Regions from separate parts of the Homo sapiens genome. Here regions 1, 3, 4, 5 and 6 are each linked to region 2. Evidence: promoter capture Hi-C in human tissues and cell types (Jung and others, 2019). All regions are on one chromosome and are shown on one strand. Each heading gives the region's core, a stretch centred on a gene start or on the middle of the fragment in contact. The rest is flanking DNA. Distances are from core to core; before and after follow the strand shown. Region 1 overlaps EFCAB6-AS1 (EFCAB6 antisense RNA 1). Region 2 holds the start of SULT4A1 (sulfotransferase family 4A member 1). Region 3 overlaps EFCAB6 (EF-hand calcium binding domain 6). Region 4 overlaps LOC105373053 (a long non-coding RNA gene). Region 5 overlaps MPPED1 (metallophosphoesterase domain containing 1). Region 6 overlaps MPPED1 (metallophosphoesterase domain containing 1).

Region 1 (2,700 bases), core at 49-2,548, 340 kb before region 2:
TGGTCTGCTTTCCATCCTAGGATCCCCTGACCTCCTGGCTGATTACTTATTTGCATAAAGTGACGTTCACTCTCCATCATGTACCGTCCTGTGGGTTTTGACAAATGCATAGAACCCAGTATCTATTATCATATGATCATGGAGGACAGTTGTTCCATCACCCTAAAAATCCCCTTTTTCAGTCCCTGTGTAGTCAAACTGTTTCCAAAATGGCTGTATGAGCTTGCAGTCCTACCAGCCATGAATGTGTATTCCTGCTGATTCATATCATCACCAGAATTGATCTTATTTTTAAAAATTGTAGCCATTTGAGTGTGCATGTGGGTGTTTCACCATGGTTTTAATTTCTATTTTCCTAATGACTAATGATAAGCACATCCTTCTTGTGCTTATCATTCTCATCTATTCATTTGTGGGAGTCTGTTTAGATCTTTCATCTCTTTTTAAAAAAATCAGGTTGTTTGTTTTCTTGCTGTTGAGTTTTAAGAGTTCTTTATATTCTGGATACAAGTTTTTTTTTTTTTTTTCTTCCAGTCTGTGGGTTCTCTTTTTACTCTTTTAACAGTGTCTTTCTTAGAGCAAAATTTAAAAATTCTGATATAGTTCAATTTATCCATTTCTTCTTTTATAGCTCGTGCTTTTGGTGTCATATCTAAAAATCCATTTCCCATCTCCAAACCCAAGGTCATGTAGATTTTCTCTCATGCTTTCTTTTAGGAGTTTTTTTTTAGTTTTGTGTTTTACATTTAGGTCTACAATGCCTTTTTTCTTTCTTTCTTTTTTTTTTTTTTTTTTTGGAGTCTTGCTCTGTCACAGGCTGGAGTGCAGTGGCATGATCTCAGCTCACTGCAACCTCCGCCTCCCAGTTTTAAGTGATTCTTCTGCCTCAGCCTCCCAAGTAGCTGGGACTACAGGTGTGCACCACTATGTCCAGCTAATTTTGTATTTTTAGTAGAGATGGGGTTTCACCATATTGGTCAGGCTGTAATTTTTGTATTTTTAATGGAGGTGGGGTTTTGTCATGTTGGCCAGGCTGGTCTCGAACTCCTGACCTCAGGTGATCCGCCTGCCTCGGCATCCCAAAGTGCTGGGATTACAGGTGTGAGCCACCGCACCCGGCCTAAAACTGAATATTTTAAATAATGTAGTTTGGCAACTTTGGAAGTAAGATCCCGTCCCCTCCCCTGTCCCCTCCCCCTTCAATGCCCTGAAGGATTTGTTGCTGCTGCTTGTTGTAGTTGGCTTTGTTTGTTTAGTGACTCTTCCATGTGAATTCTTTAAGGTCTGCATTCTCTGTCATGTGTGGCCACGGAAATTTCCTTTCAGTTATTAGCTTAGTGGTCAGCTGATGATGAGACAGAGGTTTCCTTAAACACTTGGAACCAATAAATTTTTCAGTCCCGCTCACACCTGTAATCCCAGCACTTTGAGAGGCTGAGGTGGGCGGATCACCATCCTGTAGACCATCCTGGCCAACATGGTGAAACCCCGTCTCCACTAAAAATACCAAAATTAGCCGGCCGTGGTGGCACACGCCTGTAATCCCAGCTACTCGGGAGGCTGAGGCAGGAGAATCGCTTGAACCCGGGGAGGTTGCAGTGAGCCGACATCACGTCACTGCACTCCAGCCTGGTGACAGAGTGAGACTCCGTCTCACATAAATAAATAAATAAATAAAATAAAAATAAAAAATTTCCCAGTCTCTGCTGAAATGCTCTGAGTGCCTGTCAGGACGCACCTTCAACATTCAGCCAGGTGGCTGGCCACTCTGCATCAGCCTTCACTTTCTGCTGGTGCAGCAAGTCAGCCAGAGGTGAGAGTGTAGGGCCTTTTTAATGTCTTTTCTGAGCATGCTCACAACCCCGGGCATACACACAGCACTGTCTACATTTGTAGCTTTCTAGATTCTCAAGAAATATGTTGGTGTTTTTTAAGGCCTCCACGTGACATTTTATTTCCCAGCTTTTCCTTTTAAGCTTTCTGAGTAGCCTTTTGATTACCCCAGCTGTTATCCATTGCCTTAGGCGGCCACCAAGTTAAAACACTTTCTTGTTTTTGTTTTTTGTTTTGTTTTTTTTTTTTTTTTTTTACAAATACTCCCTCCTTAACTCTGGGAGAAAGGTTTTTTACACCTGGGCAAGCTCCGAGTTAGGCCCAAAACAGCCAGCCTTGCAAAGGGCATCTTTCAGGGATCCACCATGCAGGCCAAATAGCGACCATATTTTGGTGAAATAGGCTTTGAAGTTGCTCCAGCTCTGTTCTGCTCTGTGTGGTGACTATCACACTGAACTGGGAATGCAGGCTGTTATTTTCTAAGGCTGTTGGGGACCTGGAGAGTGGCTGGTTGGACTAGGGCAGTTAAAATGCCACAAGTCGGCTGGGTGCAGTGGCTCACACCTGTAATCCCAGCACTTTGGGAGGCTGAGGCAGGTGGATTATGTCAGGGGTTCGAGACCAGCCTGGCCAACGTGGTGAAACCCCATCTCTACTAAAAATACAAAAACTAGCCGGGCACGATGGCGCATGCCATAGTCCCAGCTACTTGGGAGGCTGAGGCAGGAGAATCACTTGGACCCGGGAGGTGGAGGTTGCAGTGAGCTGAGATGGCACCACTGCACTCCAGCCTGGGTGACAGGGCAAGACTCCGTCTCAGAAAAAAAAAAAAAAAAAAAAGCCACAAGTCTTGCCAACGCTCAGCTA
Region 2 (2,700 bases), core at 135-2,634:
ACGCTCTGTTCTCCAACCAACACCCTCCACTGAGAGTCCCTACTCCAATCTTCCTCAGAAGAATGTCAGAGACCTGCCCTCAGGTGTCTGGAACTCCATACAGCTACAACAGCCAAGCCTACAGCTTTTCCTGAAACTGCCCGACTGCTGGTCCGGCGTGACCTTAGAGCCAGACACCTTCTAAACCACGCTGTGATTGCCTCAAATACAGTGGCAACAAGGAAATCCCAGGGCATGTTTACAGAACAGGAAAGCTGCTACCTCCTTTCCCTAAAAACCTCAGATGGGGTACTATACAATCTCCTACCTCAGGTCTGGAAACAGACCAGCCTAGCTTTAATTCCCAGGTCAGCCACTCACCAGCTGAGTGACCTTGGACCAGCCTCTTCCCCTCTCTGAGCCTCTGTGCCTAGACTGTAAAGTGGGAATGACCACCACTAGCTCACACAGCTGTTATTGTGAAAGTGACGTCAGCTAATGCTGGGAAATGTGAATGCCCCAGGTCCTGCCTCGGTGATGGAGGCAGCCCTGAAACAAGAGAATGTACAAGCAAGGCACTCCAGGCGGGGACTGGTCCCATCCCCCACCCGGAGCCCAGGCTGGAAAGGAGGGACGTTACGTTTCCACGCTGAAAGCCCTGACGCCCATGTTATCTCCCTTCCCAGGTGAACACCAGGACTTTGCACTCATCAAAGGTTGGGCAGGATTCAGGAACAGAGAGGTTGAGTGACCTGTCCAAGGTCACACAGCCAGCCAGGTAAAGGGAGAAGCAGGGATGGGTGGCGGCCCTGGGCCCATCCTCCTGCAGCGCCGGCCAAATAGGCTCCATCTCCACGGAAGGGGCCGCTCCCGAAGGTCTCTGACCTTGGTTTCCCCAGATGAGAACCAAGCCCCTTCCCACCCCCACCCCACCCCACCCCGCCCCGCAGGGATCCGAGCATCGGGAGAGCGGTGGGCACGGCAGGGGCGGAGGCCAAGGGCGACCACCCGGCCCAGCAGAAGCCCCGGGCGCGGGCGCGGCGTCTACGCGGCCGCGCTGCAGGGCTGGGGCATGGCGTGGCGGGCGCGGTCGGCGCGGGGCTCACCGGACTTGGGGTAGGTGACGATCCACACGTCGCTGGGCCGCACCGGGAAGTTGGCGATCTCCTCCATCTTCCCGCGGCAGAAGGGCGGCAGCCGCACGCCATGGAACTCGAAGTACTTGCTCTCGAACTCCCCCGGGGTGCTGGGGGTCTCGGCCTCGCTCTCCGCCATGCCGCCGCCGTCGCCGTCGCCGCCGCCGCCTCCCGGCTCGCAGCCCGCACGCGCCCGCGCCCGCGCCCGCGCCCGCGCCCCGCACACGCTCGCGCCCCACCGGCGCGCGGCGGCAGCTCCGCAGGCGTGACGTCATGGCGCCGCCGACGCGCGGCGGAGGCTCCGCGGGTATGACGTCATGGCGCCGCCCGGCACGCGGCCGCGGCGCTGCACGGGCGTGACGTCATGGCGCCGCGGAGCCGCGTCCTCCCCGCCCCGCCCCCGGCCGGGGTCACCCACCCGCTGCCGGGGCTGACAGAGACCCTGGCCCGCGGTCTGCAGCCTCCTCAGTCGTGCGTGCGTTCATTCCGCTCATAGCTTCTGTCACTCAGCAAGCGCTCAACACAGACGCATGAGATACCCTGGCTGGAAGGCCCTGAAAGGTAGTCGTCCATTCAACACGTGCTTAGCGCGCTGCTGATCTGTGCCAGGCACTGGGCCAGGGCCCCGACACGCGTCAGGGTAGAAGCAAGCAGAAGCCTGGCCCTGTTGGAGCTTACATTGGTAAATAACCAAGATAATTTCAGGTAAATATTAGGTCCTATTAAAAATATGCGTCTTCGCCAGGCGCGGTGGATCACGCCTGTAATCTCAGCACTTTGAGAGGTCGAGCACGGGCGGATCTCCTGAGGTCAAGAGTTCGAGACCAACCTGGGTAAATGGTGAAACCGCATCTCTACAAACATACAAAAAAAAAAATTAGCAGTGAGCTGTGAGCTTGCACCACTGCACTCCAGTCTGGGCAACAGGACGAGATCTTCTAACAACAACAAAAAAAAAGTATGGGCCACCTAGTCCAGCCAAAAAAACAAAGTGCTTTTTTTTTGCTTTTTTTTTTTTTTTTTTTTTTTTGAGATGGAGTCTCGCTGTGTCGCCCAGGCTGGAGTGCAGGGGCGCGATCTCAGCTCACTGCAAGCTCCACCTCCCGGGTTTACGCCATTCTCCTGGCTCAGCCTCCCGAGTAGCTGGGACTACAGGCACATGCCACCATGCCTGGCTAATTTTTTGTATTTTTTGTTTGTTTGTTTTAGTAGAGACGGGGTTTCATCGTGTTAGCCAGGATGGTCTCAATCTCCTGACCTCGTGATCTGCCCACCTTGGCCTCCCAAAGTGCTGGGATTACAGGTGTGAACCACCTCGCCCAGCCAAAAAGTGCTTCTTAATATCCCATGAGTAGGGGAGGGGAGTGTTGGATTGCAAATTCCAGGACCCCAGATCTATGGAGAAAAATTACAAAAATATACATTTAGTAAGGCACTTCTTGTGCAAACTATAATTTGAGAGCAACCGAGTTCTAGAGATCTCAGTGCAACCCCTTGCCAGTCATGCACTCAACAGACATATATGAAGCACCTACTAACATGCCTGGGGAAGCACAAAGATGAAAACAACACAGCCTGCTCTCAT
Region 3 (2,700 bases), core at 22-2,521, 280 kb before region 2:
AAACTGAAAAAGTGCAAAAATGTGCTATAAAAAGAAAGCACATTTTTTTCCATCTGTCGAAATAAAATCATTCATTTTTATTACACCAGGAAATCTGCATCCAGGGGTAGATTAAGATCTTTTTTAAAGGAAGAATTTAGCATGCCTGCAAACCCCACACCCTTGTAGTTAATTCTCATTCGGGGCTAATTAGGCACGCCCCATTGGCCCAACAGGGTGATGGCATATGTGTAATCAAATTAACCTTAAAACATCAGATAGCTTCACATTTTCATGTAGTTCATGGTAACATGAGGTAGCTGTGTACAGTGGGAAATCCCCTAGCCAGGAGTTGTTCTGGGAACCTGGGCTCTGCTGCCCACCATAAGTCCTGAACCTCTCTAAACTTTAGCTTCTTTACTGTAAAGATGGACTTAACTCAGAGGGCAGGTGTAAGTTTTCCTAAGTTTGCTGGAAAATGCCCCCATCCAGGTACCTGGCCCGTGGGGATCTCAAATGTTAAGGAGAACGATCATAAGAATGAACACAGACAACTGTGCCGCAGGGGCAATGGCAGCGGCAGGCTCAGGTGTGAAGAGGAGCCTCCTGCAAAGCTCAGCTGGCTGGGCTGCCCCTCCTCACTCCTTCCCTCCCCACATTTAATCCCTCACACCGCACCGGGACTCCGGAGCCCACCTTGCTTCCCTACACCAAGGAAATTGGGATGTGATTTACAAAAAAAAAAAAAAAAGTTTAAAATAGATCTCAGGAGTGGAGAGTGAGTGATTCCCACCTCCAAGAGTCTGATACCCTAAAAGGGTCACTAGCCTTGATTTCTTCAAAAGTCATGACACTAACTAAGGTCGATCCTCAGAAGAAGTCATGGGCAGTAGACATCACATCTCTAGTAAAGATCTTCAGGACTTCAATTCTTCAAACCACCTGGATTTGGAAAAGAAGGGCTGCGACAAGTCCATTTCCCCTTCCTCCTCAGGTTCTGGGCTCTGCTCCATAGTCCCTGTGTGACCCTGGGCAGGTTTATTCACGCTGAGCCTCAGTTTCCCCTCCTGTAGAGTGGAATCAGGAGCCCCACCTTGCAAGGTTATGATCAAAGAGAAAAAGACTCATGAACTCTCATTAGGGCTTGTGGCCCCCCAGCACCCTGGGAAGCCCTCTAGAGTGTGTGGAGCCAGGACTCTGTGACGTTAGAAGGGATGTTCACTGTGGGGATTGAGAGGTGTTGAGTGGATCTTTCAGTCTGGGTTGCTGTGGCTGTTTGGGCTCTGGGTGCCGGCTTCCCACAGGATGATTCCGACGCTGCCTTGTTCTCTTCGATGCCTGCCCTCTGCAGAAAGCATCTTCCCTTCTTGACGCTGACACACAGAAGCTCACCTGGGAGCACCACCTCACCAGGAGGCTGGTTCCAAGCACAATATCCAAGGACACCAGCACAGTCCACAGCATCAGTACTCCACACACACAAGCATCATTCCATACATGTAGGCATCATACCCTACACGCGGTCATCATTCCCTACGTGCAGGCATTATTCTGTACATGCAGGCATCATTCCATACACACAGGCATCATTCCCTACACACAGGCATTATTCCCTACAAGCAGGCATCATACCCTACACGCAGGCATCATTCCCTACATGCAGGCATCATTCCCTACACGCAGGCATCATTCCGTACATGCAGGCATCATTCCCTACACGCAGGCATCATTGTCTACATGCAAGCATCATTCCATACGTATAGGCATCATTCCGTACACGTAGGCATCATTGCTTACATGCAAGCATCATTCCATACACATAGGCATCATTCCGTACACGCAGGCATCATTCCGTACACGCAGGCATCATACCCTACATGCAGGCATCATTCCCTACACGCAGGCATCATTCCGTACATGCAGGCCTCATTCCCTACACGCAGGCATCATTGTCTACATGCAAGCATCATTCCATAAGTATAGGCATCATTCTGTACACGTAGGCATCATTGCTTACATGCAAGCATCATTCCATACACATAGGCATCATTCCGTACATGCAGGCATCATTCCCTACATGCAGGCATCATACCCTACATGCAGGCATCATTCCCTACATGCAGGCATTATTCCCTATACGCAGGCATTATTTCCTACAGATAGGCATCATTCTCTACACGCAGGTATCATTCCCTACACGCAGGTATCATTCCCTACACATAGGCATCATTCCCTACACGCAGGCATCATTCCCTGCATGCAGGCATCATTCTGTACATGCAGGCATCATTCCCTACATGCAAGCATCATTCCATACATATAGGCATCATTCTGTACATGTAGGCATCATTGCTTACCTGCAAGCATCATTCCATACACATAGGCATCATTCCGTACACGCAGGCATCATTCCCTACACGCAGGCATCATTCCCTACACGCAGGCATCATTCCCTGCATGCAGGCATCATTCCCTACATGCAAGCATCATTCCATACATATAGGCATCATTCCGTACACGTAGGCATCATTGCTTACATACAAGCATCATTCCATACACATAGGCATCATTCCATACATGCAGGCATCATTCCCTACACACAGGCATCATTCCGTACACGCAGGCATCATTCCCTACAGGCAAGCATCATTCCACACACGCAGGCATCATTCCCTACACGCAGGCATCATTCTCTATATGCAGGCATTATTCCCTACACTC
Region 4 (2,797 bases), core at 76-2,575, 480 kb before region 2:
ATTAATAGCCCAGCTCTCTCTGGAAGATGGTGGGATGAACCAAATCCTAATTTGGCTAAACAGTCAAAGAACAAATCAGTTCAAGCTTACCCAAATTTCTACTCCACAGTGGAGAAACACAGTCAACACTTACCAGTTTACCTTATTCGGTTAGCATAAGCTGGCTAATCAGATGATGACAGTACAATAAAGAAAACTTTCAAGTCAATTTTACCCATGAGCATAGATTCCAAGAATTCTTGAAAATTATTAGCACAGTGAATTCAGCAATAATAATAAAAAATACAGTACAGGCCGGGTGCAGTGGCTCACGCCTATAATCCCAGCACTTTGGGAGGCCGAGGCAGGTGAATTGCCCGAGCTCAGGAGATTGAGACCACCTGGGCAACATGGTAAAACCCGTCTCTACTAAAAATACAAAAAATTAGCCAGGTGTGGTGGCAGGCGCCTGTAGTCCCAGCTACTTGGGAGACTGAGGCAGGAGAATCTCTTGGACCCTGGAGGCAGAGGTTGCAGTGAGCCGAGATCGTGCCACTGCACTCCAGCCTGGGCTACAGAGTGAGACTCCATCTCAAAGAAAAAAAAAACAAAAACAAAAAACCCCAGCATATTATGATGAAGTTATGTTTATCTTATGAATGCAATTCCTATTATTAGGAAATTAATTAATATAATTCATTCCATTAACAGCTTAAAGAAAAAACACATAATCATTGCAATAGGACCTGGGTGACATCAGGCACTATTGTTCACCTGGTTGAGGTTTGGGAGACTTTACGACTTATACTGTGGGCAGGAGATAGTGGAGGGGCCCCGTCTATGGGAATCGGGTGGGAAACTGAGAAGGGTGTGCATGGAAGTGGCAATGATTATGAATCTGGCTTTGGACAAAATAGGATAGGAGGTAGTACTCTACGCGCCCCCTTCCTGCTTTTTGGGGCCTGGAGAGGAAACCCAAGTTATCTAAATGGCTTGACTCTTCCTCTCCCTCTGCCCACACCCACCCCCATCTCGCTATCTCACTGTAAGTCTCTTCTGTGATTATTATCACCTGGGGGTTGCAACCTCCAAAGCCTACAGTGGCCAGACAGGTGGCAAAAATGTATAACGTGGGCTGAGCGTAAAAAATATTAGATATTACACAGTTTACATATAATGCATTTTGGTTGCATGCTTCTTAAAAATTGCCTTCTGTCACCTGAAGAAAATTGTTTCTGATTTTTTTTCTTCAAATAGGCAGACTTCTCTGCCCAGCTTTCTTTCCTGCACACTTGATGGGGCAAGGAAATACTCCCTCGCTGTAAAAAGCACATCAGTGAAGCCCAGTGCTCGACAGCAGCTGACCTGGGCCCCCAGAGCTGGGGATGCAGCAGGGAGCGGTGAAGCCTGTAGCAAACTGAAGAGTGTGTGTCCCAATCCGAAATCACAGCCCAGATGTAGTTCAAGGCAATTTTTGTCATCTTAAAAAACGGGCCTGGGGAGAATCCACAGAGTTTGGTGATGAGTTGGATGGGAGATGTGGGGTTAAGGAGCTCAGAGAAGTTTTGGGAGATGCCAGGTTTCAGGCTGGGGGTCTCTGTGCAGTGGTGCCTCCCACTGACAGAAGACAGAGAGGGAAGGGCAATGGCTTTGGACAAACTGAGTTTGCAACTGGCTGTAGGACATCCTGGGGGCTGTCGTGGGTGGGTCAGGGCTCCAGGAGGCAGCCCATTCTCTCTGGAAGACGGTGGGACGAACCAATACGGCCTCTGAGTCTGACTCTGCGTCTACCTCAGGCAAATTGCGTCAGCCTCTGGAGTCTCCTTTTCTTCTGCACGGAGGCAGTGATACCATGAAGCCTCCACTTCTGTGAAATGGAGACTTGGACCTGGTCAGTGGTTCCGTGCTTCTTTTGATTATTCGCCGCACCCCAGCCTGGCAGAGGCACTTGATGTTATCCGGAGCCTGGGCTGCCTGGGTGGGGACACAAGCCTCCATTTCACAGAAGAAGTGGAGTCTTTCATGCACCAAGGCAGCGGAGGGGGCAGGACACAGCCTGGGCCCCTCGCAGACCCTAGAGGTCCCCGACGTGGCCCCTTCCTCCTCTGAGCCTTGCTGGCTGCAACCGCCCAGTCGTTCTCAGCAGGGATGGAAGAAGCCTCAGTGCGAAGCCCGGCGATGGCCGGGGCGCTGCTGCCCTCGTGTGGCCGACATGGAGAGGTGCCGGTTATGATGAGCAGGGAGTGATTTTCTGGCGAAACGCGGCCGCACGGCTCAGGCTGTTCCACTGACAAACTGCAGCTGACTCTCCCTGTTGACCGGGGTTTGATTCCAGCACTGCCCAGCTGGAACCCAGCACTGCGTGACACTGGGAATGTCTCTTTTCTGGGCCTCAGTTTCCCCAGCTGGAAAATGATGGAAGCAGGGGTTTTATGGGGGCTAAGTGAAGTCACGGATGTGAGAGTACCAAGCATTGTGCAAGGTGGTTGGTGTGTGCACGGTCCAAATTTGCCCATCCAGTCTTTCTTTCTCTTTCTTACTCTTTCTTTCTTTCTCTCTCTTTCTTTCTTTTCTTTCTTTCTTCTTTCTTTCTTTTCCTTCCTTTTCTTTCTTCTTTCTTTTCCTTCCTTCCTTCCTTCCTCCCTCCCTCCCTCCCTCCCTCCCTCTTTCTTTCTTCTTCTTTTCTTTCTTTCTTTCTTTCTCTTTCTTTTCTCTCTCTCTTTCCTTTCTTTCTTTGTTTTCTTTCTTTCTTCTTTCTTCCTTTTCCTTCCTTCCTCCCTCCCTCCCTCTTTCTTTCTTCTTTCTTTCTTTCTTCCTT
Region 5 (2,883 bases), core at 91-2,590, 390 kb before region 2:
AAATGTGGTGAATCAGAGCCCGAAGGCAGCGATGGTGGCCACCCCCAACCCGAGCTGGGGGCTCTGGCTGCCTCCCTGCTGCAGTGTGTTTGGGGAGGGGCTCGATGAGGGGTCTGCTGGCCTTGGAGGAGTCTGAGGTGCCCGTCTAGAGGGGTGGGGTCAGCTGGACCAGCGTCCCCCTCCACAGCCGTGGGGCCTGGGTGGGTTTCCCAGCCTTTGAGCCTCATTCTGCTCAGCTGCAAAGAGGAGATAATAAAACCAAGTACCTTGGGGGTGCTCTAGGGAAATGAGATCTCAGCTCTCCACCAGCGGTCCAGAAGTGGCCATCTTTCCTGCTGTGTCCTCCCGGACCCACTACCAGCTGCTCAGGCCCACGCAGCCCTCTTCCCTCCTCTCCGCAGCCTGAGCCTCACTGGAGAGGGCTTCTCTGTACCATGCCTGGTCGCACTGTGGGGCTGTGGGAGGCTTCATTCGCCAGACTCCTGCTGGGGCCTGCTAGGGACAGAGCTGGGGGAAGCAAACACGCCTGCATCCATGTTCTTGGAGCTCTCCCATGAGCACAGCAAGCAGAGTTCCCAGCGTCCATCAGGGTGGGCTCTGATGTACAAGAGGAGGGTCAGGGAGGTGGAAGGGGCTTGTAGAATCTCATCCCAGCAGCCTGACTGGAAGAACCTCGGGCCAGGGCCAGGCTGTTCCCTTCATGTCCCCAGGGACAGAAACCCAAATGCCTGTTAAGAGTGGGCGGTACCTTCAAATGAATGAAGTGGACTGGGTGTGAGACGGTAGGGACAGGTGGGGATTGGGGCCAGCTGGACGCATTCATCCTGTCCAAGGGGACACAGACACTCAGCACTTCCTGACTGGACCAGTTAAATTGTATTTATTTCTTTATTTTTAGAAAACAGAAGTAATGAAATGTTATTAGGAATCTCTCAAATTTTTGATGTTGGCAACAAATTCAAGTTTTAAAAAAAAGTTGTGCCAAACAAAATATGTCTGTGGATGGGTCTGGCCTGCCTGCTTCTAGTTTGCAAACTCTGGCCCAGGGAAGCTCTTTGGTTTTTTTGAACATCAAAATTTTGTACATTTCCATTGATTATCTTCTATAATATCAGAACAGTCCTGCAAGGTCGCTGTTACTTTTCTCATTTTACAGGTAAGGAAACTGAGGCACAGGGAAGCTAAGTCGTACAGCGGGTTGGTGGCAGAGTGGGTCTGGGATCCAGGCTGCTGGAGCTGAGATTCTGTGGCCTGCTAAGTACCAGTGGCCCCCATGTACCAGTGGTCCCCCGCCCCAGAGTTGATAAATCCCGAAGAAGAAAGAGCAGTGCTTTCTTTCTCAAACCTGTGAAGCAGTCTGAGGTGGTTGGTGAGTCAGCTATGAGTAGATTGGGATTTTCTGCCTGTTCTGAAGAAAACTTCTGTCTCGCCTTGGGGTTCCCTTTCTTACCGCCCTGGCCCACCCTCCCTGGCCAGGCTGGGACCTGGCCATTTGCCGTGGCCATAGGGCACGTGGTTAGACAGACGGCACAGGTCTCATCTAGCTGGGGGTAGAGAAGAAGCTTATAACGGGGCACTGGACCCTTCTATTTCCTTGCTATTAGGATATAATAATGGCTGTAGTTATAGGACATGTACTGCTGTAAACCTCACTCTACCCTTCCCTGGAGCTCACGTAAGGGCTGGGGAGGCGAGCTCTTCCTAGAGTGCTTCCTGAGAGCTGAGTGTGATGGCACATCTTCCGAGTCTCAGCCCATATTGCAAGCATCCGTTTCCAATAAGAAAAACAATCCTTAGTATTTGGAGCAGAGGCATTTCTGGAATTTGGTTCCCCATGGAATGCTCACACAGCGGAAGAGGTAGAGTTTTTGGTCATGGTGGAAAAGGCTCTGCTGTTCCTGGGCTGCTGTGTTGTCCCAGGGGACAGACCACGGTGCCCGTGCTGCTGGGCATTGCCCCGGGAGGGTGAGGAGTGAAGGGGGTGTCAGGGGCTCATTGGAGCCTGATGGCCAGACAAGTGTTCTGGCACCTTGCCCTGTGTGTGCTTTAGCAGATGAAGGTCATGGTCTTCCAGGGATAGAGGGGATGCCTCGCGAGGTGTCGGTCTTTGTTAGCCACAGTTACTGCTTTGTGAACTGGTTATGGAATGTCACCATTTTCCTGTCTGGGTCCCCATCCACCCCGAGGCCCCTGTGCTGTGCTGGCGTCTTTGCTACTTGCCTGACCCTCCAGGTCACTCTCGGCCCAGGAGGGGCCAGGAGAAAGGCTTGGGTCTCCAAGTGCACTTTCAACATTTCATTTTTTATCCAAATCAGGGCTTACAGGTACCATCTTGACTCTCCAGGCCCATGAGTGCCCAGCAGCTGAGGCTGGTGGGGAGTGGGGAGTCAGGGGCCCAAGCCTGGGGTCAGGCTGGCTCTCAGATGGAGTAGGGGGCAGGGGCGAGTGGCGTTTACTGAGACCGAACAGCTGTGGTGGTCTTGCGCCTGCATAGAGCCAGCCTGGTGGGTGAGGCCTGCCGGGCAGCTGCCGAGAAACCAGCCCCCAGCCAGTCTCTCTTGGGTGACAGTGCACACTCCTGCCTAGGGCATCCAGAAAACTGGACCCCAGAGAGAGAAAGATGTGTACCTTGGAAGAACTACCCAAAAGTTCGCACACAGCAAAGCTGGAATGACACTATTGTAATTCAGTGGCTGTATACATAGACATTTTTGTTTTGATTCCATCTAGATTTTGTTTTGGCTTTGAATTTCCATGGCAGTAGGGGTGGGTACTATAATGTTTCCTGAGTGTGGGGTCTCCAAACATTTGAACTGGGCTCTGCAAAGACCTTGCAATTCCTTTTGGAAAGTGGAGGATAAAGAGTCCAAGATACCCAGGGGG
Region 6 (2,700 bases), core at 113-2,612, 420 kb before region 2:
TGAAGGGTGGGGACTGTCTCTCACACACAGCCTGGCTTTCCAGGTGCCCATGATGGGTGGAAAGTGTGAACTTACAACTTGTAAAGGGGTCTTCCTTTTACAAAAGGTTCTTTCCCTCAGGCCTCGCCCCTTTGCTGCCTGGAAGTGTTTGCAGATGTCAGGACCCTCACTCAAGGAGGAATGGGCTTCAGACTGAGGGAGGAGGAGCATTTGCATGGGGGTGAGAGCATGAATCGAAGCCCATTTGCTGCTGGTATTTTGGGAACTCACCCACTGCACAAAGCGAGACACCTTGGTTGGCCGGTGGGCCAGGTCCCCAGAGTTTGGTGATCATGGCTGAGAGATGGACTGTGCACCTATTTGGTGCGTTTGGACAGGGTCGTTTTTTCTATGAAGCTCAGGTTTACTGAGCATTTAGTATGTGCTGGGTGCTGTTCTATACCCTTCGCATGTATTAGTAACTCATTTAATCCTCCTGACAATGAGGCAGGAACTATTATCATTCCCATTTTACAGAGGAGAAAACCAAGTCCCAGAGAAGTGAAGCCACTTACCCAAAGTCACACAGCTTGTAAATGGCAGAACTGGGCAGTGGGACCCCAGTGCTGAACTCTTGGTATAGCTCTGTGTTGCCTCTCCTTCTTGAGGTGAAGCCTCCCTAATTGGAAGTAAGGGTGTGGACGATGCTGATTGGAAGTAAGGGTGTAGGCGATGCATTTGGAGTCTGGATCTGCTTCCTGCCTGGGTGACCACAGCAGCCACGTGGCCCCTCTGGGCCTCATTTTAAAAGGGGGCGGTTAGGCTCCCCTGCCTCGCATCCCTCCAAATGTTGTTTTGAGGCTCTGTTGGAATGGAGGAAAGAATCACCTTGCAAAATGTAAAGTGCTGTATACCTGTTATGATTGCCCCCATGAACTGGCGTCTACCAGATCTGGGCTCCCCTGGGTAGGGGTGGGGTGTTGGGAGGAAGACATTGGACCTGAACCTTGAGGTTGAGTTGGCAGGGAAGGCAGTGGAACAACACATGTGTTACAGCATGTGGAGTTCCTGAGAGATGTGGACGTGTAGTCTCAGCTAGCAACCGCCCTCCCAACAGCAGACACAGAGAAAAAGAGACTGGAAAGAAACATTCCGTCATCCTATTGCTGAGCCTCACTGAGAGCCCACGAGGTGCCAGGTGTGTCGCAAGCCCTGGGGTAACAGTAGGCCCTGAGCACACAGGGCCCCACTCAGCCTGATGCGAGGGGACGGTGGCTTCATAGCCATGAGGGCGGCACGGGAGCCATTCATTAGAGAGAGCTATGGGGTCTGTCTGGGACCCACCTGGGGACGTGTGGTGATGGCCATTCAGCTGGGTGGGCACGGAAGGCCTCCCTGAGGAGGGGATGTTGGGCCAGGCCTGAGGGTGAGAATGAGGCAGCCTTGTGCAGCTCTGGGCAGGACCCGTTCCAGGCAGAGGACGCGGAGGCTGCAGGGGCCCTGGGGTGGGAGCAGAGAGCACTAGGAGTGTTGGGAAGTGGGAGAAGCAGGGCAGTGGGGCAGGCACTGGTCCACACAGGCCTCCTGGGCCTCGGACAAGAGTGTGGGGCTGATCCTAAGGGCAGGGGGAGCTTTGGGAAGGTTTTTGTATGGGGATGACCTTTAGAAAGCTTTTCAAAGGCCATGATGGATTGTAGAACCAGAGTGTACCTGGTGAGGGCTAAAGCTCCAGAATGTTCCAGAGTCGATGTCTGGGTGGTGGGCTCATGGGGTTTTACCTTCTTCTTTAGGATTGTCTCTCTCTCTCTCTGTGTCTGATTTTCTATAGGGGAGGGGTGTGTTTTTCTGGTAATTTCAAACAAAGGCAACGCTCCTGGGTGTCTGGTGCCAAGTGTGTCACAGAAGGGATGGGACAGCGCTGGGCCTTGGGTCAATCCTGGCCGCTCAAGGGCCTCCATGAGCCCCTTCCCCAGCCGACAGGGCGGGAGACCTTTGCACACCCACCTCATCACCTTGCCCACCTCGCCCACCCACTGGCTCAGCCCCTTCTCCTGGATGAGAAAGTTATAGATTTGAAATTCACAACTTGCTCCTTCCCTGTTCATTGATCTCATGGAAAGCATTTGAAATCATATTCTGGGAGCCACCTCCAGACAGACAGGAAGAGATTTAAAAAATTAATAAAGACCTACCGTATAAGACAAGACAAGACATCTAACGGGGCTCTGCGTGGTTAAATTCCTGCGGACTCTAACTTGCTGTGAGGTGCGTTGCTGTCAGCTCGGCTGTGACTGGTGTCTATGCATTGCCCGTTTGCCGGCTTCTAGCTGGGTCTGCGTTCATGGGAGGGGGACGGGTTGGGATGAAAGAGTCCCTCTGAGCAGCCCCTTTTCCCCCTTGGCCATTAATATCCCAAATGTATTCATGAAATAGAAGTGGCAGCTTGATTTGTAAATGTCGAGTAAGCAGCTAAAAGATGGATAAGGACAAGTTCTCCAGCTATAAAGAGTGAACGCAAAAGCAAAACTTGCTGAAAATGGCAAAGAATGTGCAGGTGGTTCCTTGCTCCTCACCAGCCACAGGGAGCTCACAGCCTGGATGGATCAGTCAGCAGTGCCAGTGCAGGGAGGTGGGGCGGCTGGAGGCCAGGCAGCTGTCTTCACCCCTGTTTCCTCCTCTTTGCTGTGTTACCTCAGTCCAGTCTCTCAACCTCTCTGTGCC

The links. The method cuts DNA at HindIII sites, captures the fragments that hold promoters and counts their contacts. A contact is called where the count stands out against the background at its distance.
Region 1: a contact is called between a fragment that was not itself captured here and the fragment with the promoter of SULT4A1 in region 2, in 2 of the 25 tissues and cell types used here (lymphoblastoid cells and mesendoderm cells).
Region 3: a fragment that was not itself captured here is called in contact with the fragment with the promoter of SULT4A1 in region 2 in 1 of the 25 tissues and cell types used here (mesendoderm cells).
Region 4: a contact is called between a fragment that was not itself captured here and the fragment with the promoter of SULT4A1 in region 2, in 3 of the 25 tissues and cell types used here (IMR-90 fibroblasts, dorsolateral prefrontal cortex and lymphoblastoid cells).
Region 5: a contact is called between a fragment that was not itself captured here and the fragment with the promoter of SULT4A1 in region 2, in 2 of the 25 tissues and cell types used here (H1 embryonic stem cells and dorsolateral prefrontal cortex).
Region 6: a contact is called between a fragment that was not itself captured here and the fragment with the promoter of SULT4A1 in region 2, in 4 of the 25 tissues and cell types used here (dorsolateral prefrontal cortex, lymphoblastoid cells, mesendoderm cells and 1 more).

What each region holds. Positions count from the first base shown.
Region 1 is chr22:43,520,633-43,523,332 of GRCh38, forward strand. All of the region lies in intron 2 of EFCAB6-AS1 (EFCAB6 antisense RNA 1), which reads left to right. Among named protein-coding and RNA genes, the nearest start is that of EFCAB6-AS1, 5.7 kb to the left of the region's middle. The HindIII fragment of the contact is 4,397 bases long and covers 1-2,700 here.
Region 2 is chr22:43,861,129-43,863,828 of GRCh38, forward strand. SULT4A1 (sulfotransferase family 4A member 1) reads right to left here and starts at 1,385. Exons shown (of 7, transcript NM_014351.4): 1 at 1,086-1,385. The coding sequence starts at 1,254. The HindIII fragment of the contact is 9,350 bases long and covers 1-2,700 here.
Region 3 is chr22:43,577,168-43,579,867 of GRCh38, forward strand. The region is part of intron 25 of EFCAB6 (EF-hand calcium binding domain 6); the gene reads right to left. Among named protein-coding and RNA genes, the nearest start is that of EFCAB6-AS1, 62 kb to the left of the region's middle. The HindIII fragment of the contact is 8,969 bases long and covers 1-2,700 here.
Region 4 is chr22:43,383,699-43,386,495 of GRCh38, forward strand. All of the region lies in intron 3 of LOC105373053 (a long non-coding RNA gene), which reads right to left. Among named protein-coding and RNA genes, the nearest start is that of LINC01639, 15 kb to the right of the region's middle. The HindIII fragment of the contact is 8,457 bases long and covers 1-2,797 here.
Region 5 is chr22:43,471,277-43,474,159 of GRCh38, forward strand. The region is part of intron 3 of MPPED1 (metallophosphoesterase domain containing 1); the gene reads left to right. Among named protein-coding and RNA genes, the nearest start is that of EFCAB6-AS1, 44 kb to the right of the region's middle. The HindIII fragment of the contact is 4,534 bases long and covers 1-2,883 here.
Region 6 is chr22:43,436,890-43,439,589 of GRCh38, forward strand. All of the region lies in intron 3 of MPPED1 (metallophosphoesterase domain containing 1), which reads left to right. Among named protein-coding and RNA genes, the nearest start is that of MPPED1, 26 kb to the left of the region's middle. The HindIII fragment of the contact is 8,662 bases long and covers 1-2,700 here.